3 separate regions of the Homo sapiens genome follow, and all the other regions are linked to region 3. The links are contacts of gene promoters, found by promoter capture Hi-C in blood cells and fetal thymus (Javierre and others, 2016). All regions are on one chromosome and are shown on one strand. The core of a region is centred on a gene start or on the middle of the fragment in contact, and the rest is flanking DNA. Distances in the headings are between cores, read along the strand shown.

Region 1 (3,306 bases), core at 131-2,630, 1.1 Mb before region 3:
AGGTGTTTATGTTCTGCCATTATTATATGGGGAAAATTGAATTAAATCTCTAGGAAAAGAAAATGTGAAGCCATTGCTTTACATTGCTTTACTTGAATAAGTTTGATTTTCTGTTAATTTCATTACATGAAAAGATTATAAATCAATTTCTTGTGTAGGAACCAGAATATGCTGTCACCCTTCTACCTTTCACCCACACTTAAGAATTATAAAGAATGTGGGCCGGGCACGGCGGCTCACACCTGGAATCCCAGCACTTTTGGAGGCCGAGGCAGGTGGATCACGAGGTCAGGAGTTCGAGACCAGCCTGACCAATATGGTGAAATCCTGTCTCTACGAAAAATACAAAAATTAGCTGGACATGGTGTCGGGTGCCTGTAACCCCAGCTACTCGGGAGGCTGAGGCAGGAGAAATCCTTTGAACTCGGGAGGTGGAGGTTGCAGTAAGTTGAGATCGCACCATTGCACTCCAGCCTGGGTGACTGGGCAAGACTTTGTCTCAAAAAAAAAAAAAAAAAAAAAAGAATTATAAAGAATTTAACTCTTAATCCTTGGAATTTTGCATTGAATAATTTAGAATTTCTTAAAATGAGTTTAAGGAATTTCCTGCTAAAATTATCTAAAAAGATGGTTTTAAACTTTAATTAAATCATCATGGGGGTGTTTATTGCTGTGTTAAAAAATTAATTAAAAGGGTTCTGTAAGGATTTAAACTGAATCCTTAGCCAGGCACTGCTGGAATGTGGGAGGATTATATTAGTCTAGTATCACTCATGTATTAAGTCAGTGTGTGGCATCTTTTAATGCTTTCTCTTAACTCTACATGTTTCTTGTCAGAACTGGGGAAAAGTCTGTTTGAGGAGTATACATGGGAAGAGTGTTAAATATTCCAATGACCAATCTGGGAATGTGGCAGAAGGGTAGATTGGGGCAGAATGCTGAAAGAGAAGCTTGCTGGGAGTGTCACCTTGACAAATGACTTATTGGTTCAGTAAACTGCTTCATGCAAATTGTGCCAAATAGATATTGCTTATGTGCTATGAAATATACTTTCTTGCCTGGGTACCAGGAAAGGCCCCAACTGGCTTGATACCAGCCCAGTTCAAAGAGGGCACAGGAGGCCATTTGACTTTCATTTTGCTTGCAAGAGATGAGACCAAGTAAATTTGAGATTAAGGAGTTGAGGGAAATGGTAGAGAAGACAAACATGAACCCCTCAGAGGTACAGCCATTATAAAAATACAAAAGCTGAATTTATGAGTTTATTTCTTTTGGCAATAACAGTCTATTAGGCAGGGTCCATTTGACTCCATTTTTCTTAATGCAAACTCTACTTTCTATATTTAGAATGTTTAAGGCTGGATTCTGGTGTATAGGCAGCAAGGCATTTAAAATGACACTTTTAAATGTTTTAAAACATTTTTCTTTTGAAAGTGTTTACACTCAGATATGTTGATGAAAATATCAGTCTTTGTGCAAATAGCTAAAAATTAACTGGTATTTATTCTGGGGTGAGCTACCTATGGCATATTTCATTCAGAACCACTTTTAAATTATTCAATAGATATATAATATGCCCTTATATGTTATTCACTGTGTTAGGAGTTACAAAGCACAAGACAGATCTTCTTTCCTCTTTCTCCCCCGTAACAAATTTAGTGGTAAAAATAAGACAATTTTAAAGTGACATTTGATAAATAACACAAGTAAATGGATAGAATAAGAGAGAGAAATCCATTAATTATAAAAAGAACCTTAGCCTAACTAAATATGTCATTAAGATGCCACTGGCAATGGGGAATTACCAAAGGAAAGCTTAATAAAAGAAGCAATTTGATCAAAGTTAGGTGTTATAAATATTAATCTGTAGGACGTATTGGAAGAACAAGACACAGGAAACAGAACAATTAGGAGACTGCCAGTCCTTAGATCTAAAAGCTTGAGTGGCTTCTCAGTGCTCCCCATGCGTGGTCTGGTATTCCAGCCCTCCTAACATGTTCATAATATATTGTTCCATCCCTTTTCTCCCTATTAAGAGGCTCTAGCCAAATTGGCCTACTCCCTATTCCAAAACAAAACAAAAAAGTCATATACTTACCAGCTTCCTGGCTGATGTTATGCTTTTTCCTTTGCCTAAAATGGCCCCCATCTCTACCTATCATTCACTTATTTGTGAACTATTTTAAGGTTTGGGGATTTACTGGTAAAGTACAAGCTGTTAACTTACGTGGAATTAGTTGCATAAATGAATAATTATAATTTAACACAGTAAGTATAATGACAGAGAAAGATGTGTTACCGGAGAACTAAATGGAAGTGTACCTTGACCTTCCCTTAGGGGACTGATAGAGGAGGAAGATTCCTGGGAAATGCAAAGCCTGTCCTAAGCCTCAGGATGATTAGGAGTTTACCTTGCAGATGTAGAATAGAAAAGAAAGAGGGAAAACATTTCAGGAAGAGAGAACAAACTAAGCCATGGCACTGAACTACACAATAGGGAATGTATTAAAGAATTGCAAGCAATTTGGTATTTCTAGAATGAAGTCTAAAACTGAGCACACAGACAGAGACAGTGGCTGGATTGTGGAAAATCTGGTGTACTATATTAGGGAGCTTGCACTAATTTATAGGATAGTAGTTTTTAAACCCTTTTTAAGCAGAAGGACACTTTCTTTGTAGAAAGGCTTATGCAGAAGCCCTGTACAACAGATACACTGAGAATGATGTTCAGGTTGAAGCAGAGATACTTCCCCCCACCCCCACATACTTCCATACACAAACACACCACCACTTCTTTGAAAACCACTGCTAGAGGCAAAGAACTGCTGAAGGGCTTTAAACCTCAGGATGACATGATCGTATTTGCATTTTGGAACTATTATGATAACTATGTAAAGGATAGGTTTAAGGGGCAGAACGTCCCAGGCAGATACCAGTGAAGAAACTGTTGCAGGAGTTTAATTAAGAGATAAATAGAGGCTTTTGGCACCAGCTATGACAGAATGACTGGTGCAAGATGGGCCCTCCCACTGTAAACAACAAAAAATAGGACACCACCCCCTCACTATCTGTCTATCTGTCTGTCCATCTATCGATCAATCGAAAGAGAGCATGGGTGTGCAACACAACTATTTTCAGGCATTGGACAATAGGCAGCCACTGTGTTGGTCACCATTGCCCAGGTGTCTGCTGCATACTATTTTCCAACTGTGGTGCTGTAATCTGGAGGCCAGGCCTGCCAGAGTACAATAGACTCACTGAGCTGAGGAGGCACAGAACAGAATTTTGCATCTGAAAGGGCTGGAA
Region 2 (3,600 bases), core at 57-2,556, 1.1 Mb before region 3:
ATTAAAGTTTTCAAAGCAAATATTATAACAGAACTGACCTTACTACCAATCTGATATAGTTAGATTTGCCCATTAGAAAGAAGTTTGCATTATTAGCCAATTAAATGCAAAAACTTCATTTACATTTGAACATTTTCCTGATTTTCTTTTGGAAGTAGTTAATTGGGTCTCAAAACTGACATGAATAAAATAAAAAAAAACTAGTACTTAAGTTCTCAAGCTAACCTACTAAAATCAATTTTACTGTTTGATTTTGTTACTTTTGTTACTCTTATGAGCTAGATTTTGATTAGCAGTAACATTTTTTTTCGATTGGGACATCAGTTCTCAATTCTAAGTTGAGGTGCGAGACCACAATTCTGCTGTAATTTGAAGTTTGGATTCCTAATTTGTTCTTTTATCTTCCATATTTTAGCACAGTGGAGATTTGTTTACTTCTGTGAAGGTGGCTCCAAGGCAGTGCTGCCACTTATGGTTGCTCAAACTGTTACCCAATTACCTGTCACTTGTTATCGCTGATTTGTAGCTGTTTCATAAAATTTCCAGTAGATGGCAGTAGAGTTTCTTCAATAAAGGACTCCCTTTCTAATTTGTGGAAGTCATTTGTATAGGCTATTGTCATGGTTACTGTTCCCAGTTTGTACAGTCAAGTTCTGTGGAAATGGGTGCCCAAGAAGACCAGAGTAGAGTACTCCAAAATGTGATACCCACACTAGAGGCTCCTCTTAATCAGCCCTAAGGCCAAGTTCTTAGGAAACCACTGTGGTGGTTGGAGAATCAGGTGGGAAGTAGGAATGATTTTTAGATTCAGCCTGGACATCTGGAGGAGATGAATGGCAGATTGAACACAAGCATCTAATTATACTCCTCCCAGAAACTCCACCAAACCTACTAAAGGTGTTTTATTTTAAAGACATGATCCATCAAGGATATGGAGAACGAGAAAGAAGAAAACAGCCATACACACACACAAACACACACACACACACACACACACACACACACACATTGAAAGCTGAAAAGCAAATAGAGTGTGGCAAATGACATAGCTTACTTAAGAAAGCCAAATCTTAACTTGGCTATGAAGAAGGCTAAAAATGAAGCTGACCTTTACCACAGAATCTTTAAATAGCTCAGGAATTGAGCCAGACATATGTGGTAGCAGATCCCCAGGTCTCCTCCTCTTCCCCATTCCACTGAACAACTGTTCTTCCTACCTATACCTCCACCTTAGTATAAGACTCCAAGTATACTCTTTGGAGGGAAAAAAAAAAGCCCAAGTATCTTTGGATTGGGAGATACTAGGCAAAATTGAGAACAGGGCATTTTACCACATATGAGGGAATTAGGTGAATATGTGCACGCTGAATGATGGGACTCCTCCACCTTTCTTCTCTCACTTGCCTTTACCCTACAGGCAGGAGATTAGTAGAATACCCCTTGGTGTATTTAGCCCAAGAAGAAAGATCTAAGAATACCAACTTTCCCAAGATTAGTGGACATCTGAAGAAAAGCCTGAAAGAGAGAGACTAAAACATACAAAAAAAGAAGAAGAAGAAAAGAAAAAGAAAAAAGGGAAAAAACAACTTGGAGGTAGAGACTAGGCAGGGAACAGAAAACTTTAAAAAAATGATTGATATCCTCAGAAAGATAGGATGTTACATACATGAAACAAGAACAGAATGTTTTACAAAGTTGAGCTTTTGTCTACTAAAAAATTAGAATATAAAACTCAATATAAGGGTTGGAAAATGGAATTGAGAAAATAGAAAGTGGAGAGAAAAAAAAGATAAAATAATGAGAGGACCAGTCTAGGAAGTTGAATATCAAAACAACAATTCCAGAAAAAGGGAAAGAAAGGGAGCAAAACCCTAGCAAAATAATTTCAGGAAATTTCCCACCACTGAAAGATATGTGTTTCCAGATTGAAAGGGCTTACTGAGTTCCCATGACAAGTCACATTTCATGAAATTCTAAATTGTCTCTAGTGACAAGAGACAGTCTTACAAACCTGCAAAAAAAGGGAAATTGGAGTACATACAAAGGATCAGAAAGGCTGCGGACTTACAATAAGCAATATCAGAAGCTAGAGAACAATGAGGAATGCCCTCAAAATTCTGAAGGAAATTTTTTTCCAGTCCAGAATTGTATATTTAGCTGTAAACTATTAGTCAAATTTGAGAATAGCATAAAGACATTTTCAGACATGCAAGACTCAAAAAAGATTACCTCCTACACATCATTTTTCCTGAAGCTAATGAAAGATATGTTTTACTAAGAATGAGGACAGGAGATCTAGCACAGGGGAGAGAAAAAGGGAACTTTTAGTAGAATGCTAAAGACAGAACCAAGTTTAATAGCTCGGTACAAGATGTAGAATAAAGACAGCCAGTTCAGACTGGAGCAGCTGATAAGGCTGTAGCGAGACTTTCCAAGAACACAAAATTGATAAGTTAACTCAATCAGCGGAAACAATAGGAAGCGCATTTGTGGTTGAATTAACAATAAGCATATAGATATCTAAGCAAATGAATAATACAAGAGAACACTATAAGAGAAACAAAAAAGTAGCTCAGGACAAAGAGAACACTTCTATAGCACTTTTTATCATATTGGGCACTTTACATATATGAATTTTTTAATCCTTGTAAACCCAAGAGGTAGATAATGTTACAATGAATATTTTATGGATAAGGAAACTGAGGCATAGAGAGGTGAAGTAACTTGCCTAAATAGCTAGACAGCCATTAAGTGGCAAAGATAGGCTTTGAACCCTGGAAGTATGCCTTCAAGATCTATGCTCCTGACCACTATGCTACAGTCTACATAGGATTTACTCTGTGGCTGGAGTCTAAATAACGTACATAGTCATAATATTGTTTGCCTTTACCAAAATTATTATGTAACTATATAGGGAAGGTGAGAGAATAGGAGTATGTATGCACCTACTGGGATGGTGATGGAGGAGGAAGGATTCACATTCTCATCTTTCATAGTGGAAAGTCAATAGATAATGTCTAAAATAGAGAAATTTTAAAGTATCAACAAAGCAATATTATTCAATATTTGATGTTAACTACCAAAACAATTGGCTAAGAGAGGTAAAAGTGGTTGCTTCTGCAGAAGGAAATGTGTTAAAAGAGGAGGGCTGGGTATTGCTGTTTGTTTTAACAAGTTGTAGAACCAGTTGACTCTAAACTGTGTGCACATTTTTTTTTTTTCTGTTTTGAGACAGGGTCTCACTCTGTCACCCGGGCTGGAGTGCAGTGGCATGATCACAGCTCACTGCAGCCTCAAACTCCTGGGCTCAAGCAATCCTCCCACCTCAGCCTCCCAGGGAGCTGGAACTGCAGGTGCACACCACCACACCCAGCTAATTAAGGGCATTAATTCCTTAGCTTTTAGGGATTTAAATGGGAGGGCATATTACATTGATGACGACAGGTGGGTTTCACACTACTAAAATATACTGTTTTTAAAATTAGCTAAGTCTTTTCTCATTCTATAGTCACTTGTAGTAAGATATTAAGTTAGCCTTTAAAACAGCTTAGTTTTTCCTTATCTAAGGTAAGGAAGATAAATTGAATCTGACAAAACAAG
Region 3 (3,682 bases), core at 633-3,132:
ATAAGATAAAGTTTCCTCCCTGTCTGGAAGCAACTAGACGCTGGGCTTCTCCCAGCGATTCATTATTTGGCACTAAATCTCTGCCTTAATATGAAACGATCCGGCTCATGCCTGTAATCCCGGCACTTTGGGAGGCCGCGGCGGGTGGATCACCTGAGGTCGGGAGTTCGAGACCAGCCTGACCAACATGGAGAAACCCCGTCTCTACTAAAAACACAAATTTAGCTGGGCGTGGTGGCGCATGCCTGTAATCCCAGCTACTAGGGAGGCTGAGGCAGGAGAATCGCTTGAACCTGGGAGGCGGAGGTTGCGGTGAGCCGAGATCGAGCCATTGCACTCCAGCCTGGGCAACAAGAGTGAAACTCCGTCTCAAAAAAGAAAAGAAAAGAAATGATCCCTCACCGAACCGAGCCTCAGTTCAGTGCGAAGGCTCTGATGATACTCTTTTTTTTTTTGAGACGGAGTCTCGTTCTGTTGCCCAGGCTGGAGTGCGGTGGCGCCATCTCGGCTCACCGCAACCCTTTCCTCCCCGGTTCAAGCGAATCTCCTGCTTCAACCTCCTGAGTAGCTGGGATTACAGGCGCGCGCCACCTCTCTTGGCTAATTTTTGTGTTTTTAGTAGAGACGGGGTTTCACCATGTTGGTCAGGCTGGTCTCGAACTCCTGACCTCGTGATCCACCCGCCTCGGCCTAAGAAAGTGCTGGGATTACAGGCGTGAGCCACCGGCCGCTGATGGTATTCTTTCCTGAGGGCAGATTTTCACGCCAGAAGCCCCGACAATTATACCTGAGCTGGTTCCACCTAAGCTCAATCCTCCTTCCCTGCCCCAAGGGGGTGAAAAATCTGGGCCCAGGAGGCCTTCCTTGTGCTCTGGGGGGAGGCATTTAAGGGTCCAAGGAAGACGTGACCGAAATGTAAAGCACTGGACGGCTTACCCAATAAGGGACCCAGCGTTTCTTATTACCCAACATCCCCCTGAGTCTGGCTTTTAGAAAAATATGCAAAGCGTCCGGGCGCAGTGGCTCACGCCTATGATCCCAGCACTTTGGAAGGCCGAGGCGGGCGCGGTCAGGAGTTTGAGACCAGCCTGGCCAATATGGTGAAACCCCGTCTCTACTAAAAATACAAAAATTAGCCGGGCATGGTGGCCCCCGCCTGTAGTCCCTCGGGAGGCTGAGGCAGGAGAATCGCTTGAACCTGGGAGGCGGAGGTGGCAGTGAGCTGAGATCGCACCATTGCACTCCAGCCAGCGCGACAGAACGAGACTCCGTCTCAAACAAAACAAAACAAAAAACAAACTACAAAATTAGCCGGGCATGGTGGCGTCTGCCTGTAGTCCCAGCTGCTTGGGAGGCTGAGGCAGGAGAATTGCTTGAACCCAGGAGGTGGAGGTTGCAGTGAGCCGAGATCGCACCATTAAACTCCAGCCTGGGCGACAAGAGGGAAATTCCGTCTCAGGGGAAAAAAAGAGAAAGAAAGAAAAAGAGGAAGAAAGAGAAAGAAAAATATGCAAAGCAACAAAAAAGAGAGCTAGAAAGATGGAAACAACTCAGAAGACCCTTGCTTAACCCGCGTGCGTCACGGGCTACAGGGGTCGGCCCCTCGAGCTAACCCCCACCGGCGCCTGCGCACTGGCCTGGCCCGCGGCAGGAAGCCCCGGCGTGAGACACTTTCGGATTCCGTGACAACGGCGGGATTAAACGTTTTTCTTCTCCTTTGCTACTGAACCTATGCTGTGACTTAGAACATAAGAAACTCCAAGAGGGTGTAGGGATTGTCTTAGCTGTCTCCCTCCTCCGCCGGCACCGCTGAAGGCAGCCCCTATGGAGGGCGCTAAACCTCGGGGCCCTGGGTTTCTATGACGACAAACAGGCGTTCCAGCAAAGGAGGAAGTGAGCGGATGCTGGGCGGGTACGCAATGTGTGGGTAGGATCGCGGGTGTCCCTTTCCCGTCATTTTAAACCAAGAAGCAGTGCGAGGCCTGCCCAACTCGCGAGTTTGTGGAACTGGCGCGCGAGAGCGCTGCCTGTGGGGAAGGTATGGTCCCCAGCCGAGCCGCCTGCAGCGAGTGTCCCCCACCAGGGGTGCCGGCGGTCTGCGGGGTCCGCCGAGCGGGTCCTTCCTGCCCTGCTCCTTGACCCCGACCTGACGGTCCACTAAGGCTTCTTAGTCGCTACACATAACCCCAGAACATAGAGGTCGCCCCGAAGAAGGAGAACCATGCTAGATGAATTCTAAACTGCGATCTGAACCTAAGTACTCAATAGTTGTCATCTTTTTTTTTTTTTTTAAATCTTTTTTCCTCTGCCTGCAGGACTATGTGGCAGCCTGCAAGTCCCAGTGCGGCGCTGATTTGTGTCTAAATTAGCTTTCCGGAGGACTATTTCAAATTACTAAAGAGATAGGAGGCATTGTTTATTATGTCTCTCCCGAAAACGCCCTCCACCCCGCTAAACTCTACATCAACATCTGAGAGCAAAAAGTTAAAAGTGTCTGTAGCCAAGGAAGGGACAAGAGGTAAACTTCGTTGATTCTGAAGTCATAAACAGTCATGGCCGTAAGACAGAAATCACCTTCCATTCACCGGTTTTTTAAATCTGATATTCAGAATACCTTGATTGGCTACATTTTTCTAACACACTTGCTTAAATAAAGCAAGAAGTCATTCCTTTTACAGTATTTTGAGTCAGAGTACTGTTTCACTACTCCATCTAAATACAGTTTATACTTTTTTTCAAATGTTGATTTATATATGATTTTAAATTCAACCTATTTTAAATATCAATAGTTACGTATTTTTTGGTTCCTGGTCTTTGGCTTTAAGGAACTTTGGAAAAAGTAATAGTGAGGCAGGGCGCGGTGGCTCACGCCTGTAATCCCAGCACTTTGGGAGGCCGAGGTGGGCGGATCACTTGAGGTCAGGAGTTCGAGACCAGCCTGGCCAAATATGATGAAATCCCGTCTCTACTAGAAATACAAAAATTAGCCGGGCATGGTGGCTCGCGCCTGTAGTCCCAGCTTACTCTGGAGGCTGAGGCAAGAGAATCGCTTGAACCCAGGAGGTGAGGTTGCAGTGAGCCAGGATCGAGCCATTGCATTCCAGTCTGGGAGACAAGAGCAAGACCCCATCTCAAAATAAATAAATAAATAGGCCGGGCACAGTGGCTCACACCTGTAATCCCATTTGGGAGGCTGAGGCTGGCGGATCACGAGGTCAAGAGATTGAGACCATTCTGGCCAACATGGAGAAACTCTGTCTACTAAAAATACAAAAATTAGGGGGGGCGTGGTGGCTCGTGCCTGTAGTCCCAGCTACTCAGGAGGCTGAGGCAGGAGAATCGCTTGAACCCGGGAGGTGGAGGTTGCAGTGAGCCGAGATTGCGCCACTGCACTCCAGCCTGGCGACAGAACGAGACTCCGTCTCAAATCACGAGGTCAGGAGTTTGAGACCAGCCTGACCAACGTGGTGAAACCCGGTCTCTACTAAAAATACAAAATTTAGCCTGGTGTGGTGGCACTCGCCTGTAATCCCAGCTACTCGGCAGGCTGAGGCAGGAGAATCACTTGAACCCGGGAGGCAGAGGTTGCAGTGAGCCAAGATCTTGCCACTGCACTCTAGCCTGGGCAACAGAGGTAGACTTGGTCTCAAATAAGTAAATAAAGAAACAAAAAGTAATAGCA

The links. The method cuts DNA at HindIII sites, captures the fragments that hold promoters and counts their contacts. A CHiCAGO score of 5 or more calls a contact.
Region 1: a contact is called between a fragment that was not itself captured here and the fragment with the promoter of AXDND1 in region 3, in 2 of 17 cell types (naive B cells and total B cells). The highest score is 8.9, in naive B cells.
Region 2: a fragment that was not itself captured here is called in contact with the fragment with the promoter of AXDND1 in region 3 in 2 of 17 cell types (naive B cells and total B cells); the score reaches 8.8 in naive B cells.

The regions. Positions count from the first base shown.
Region 1 is chr1:178,291,535-178,294,840 of GRCh38, forward strand. All of the region lies in intron 2 of RASAL2 (RAS protein activator like 2), which reads left to right. Among named protein-coding and RNA genes, the nearest start is that of RASAL2, 200 kb to the left of the region's middle. The HindIII fragment of the contact is 865 bases long and covers 949-1,813 here.
Region 2 is chr1:178,310,281-178,313,880 of GRCh38, forward strand. All of the region lies in intron 3 of RASAL2 (RAS protein activator like 2), which reads left to right. Among named protein-coding and RNA genes, the nearest start is that of CLEC20A, 180 kb to the right of the region's middle. RefSeq lists a silencer at 434-728. The HindIII fragment of the contact is 6,190 bases long and covers 1-3,600 here.
Region 3 is chr1:179,364,089-179,367,770 of GRCh38, forward strand. AXDND1 (axonemal dynein light chain domain containing 1) reads left to right here and starts at 1,883. Exons shown (of 26, transcript NM_144696.6): 1 at 1,883-1,912; 2 at 2,316-2,518. The coding sequence starts at 2,422. RefSeq lists enhancers at 1,434-1,833, 2,214-2,283. The HindIII fragment of the contact is 9,843 bases long and covers 1-3,682 here.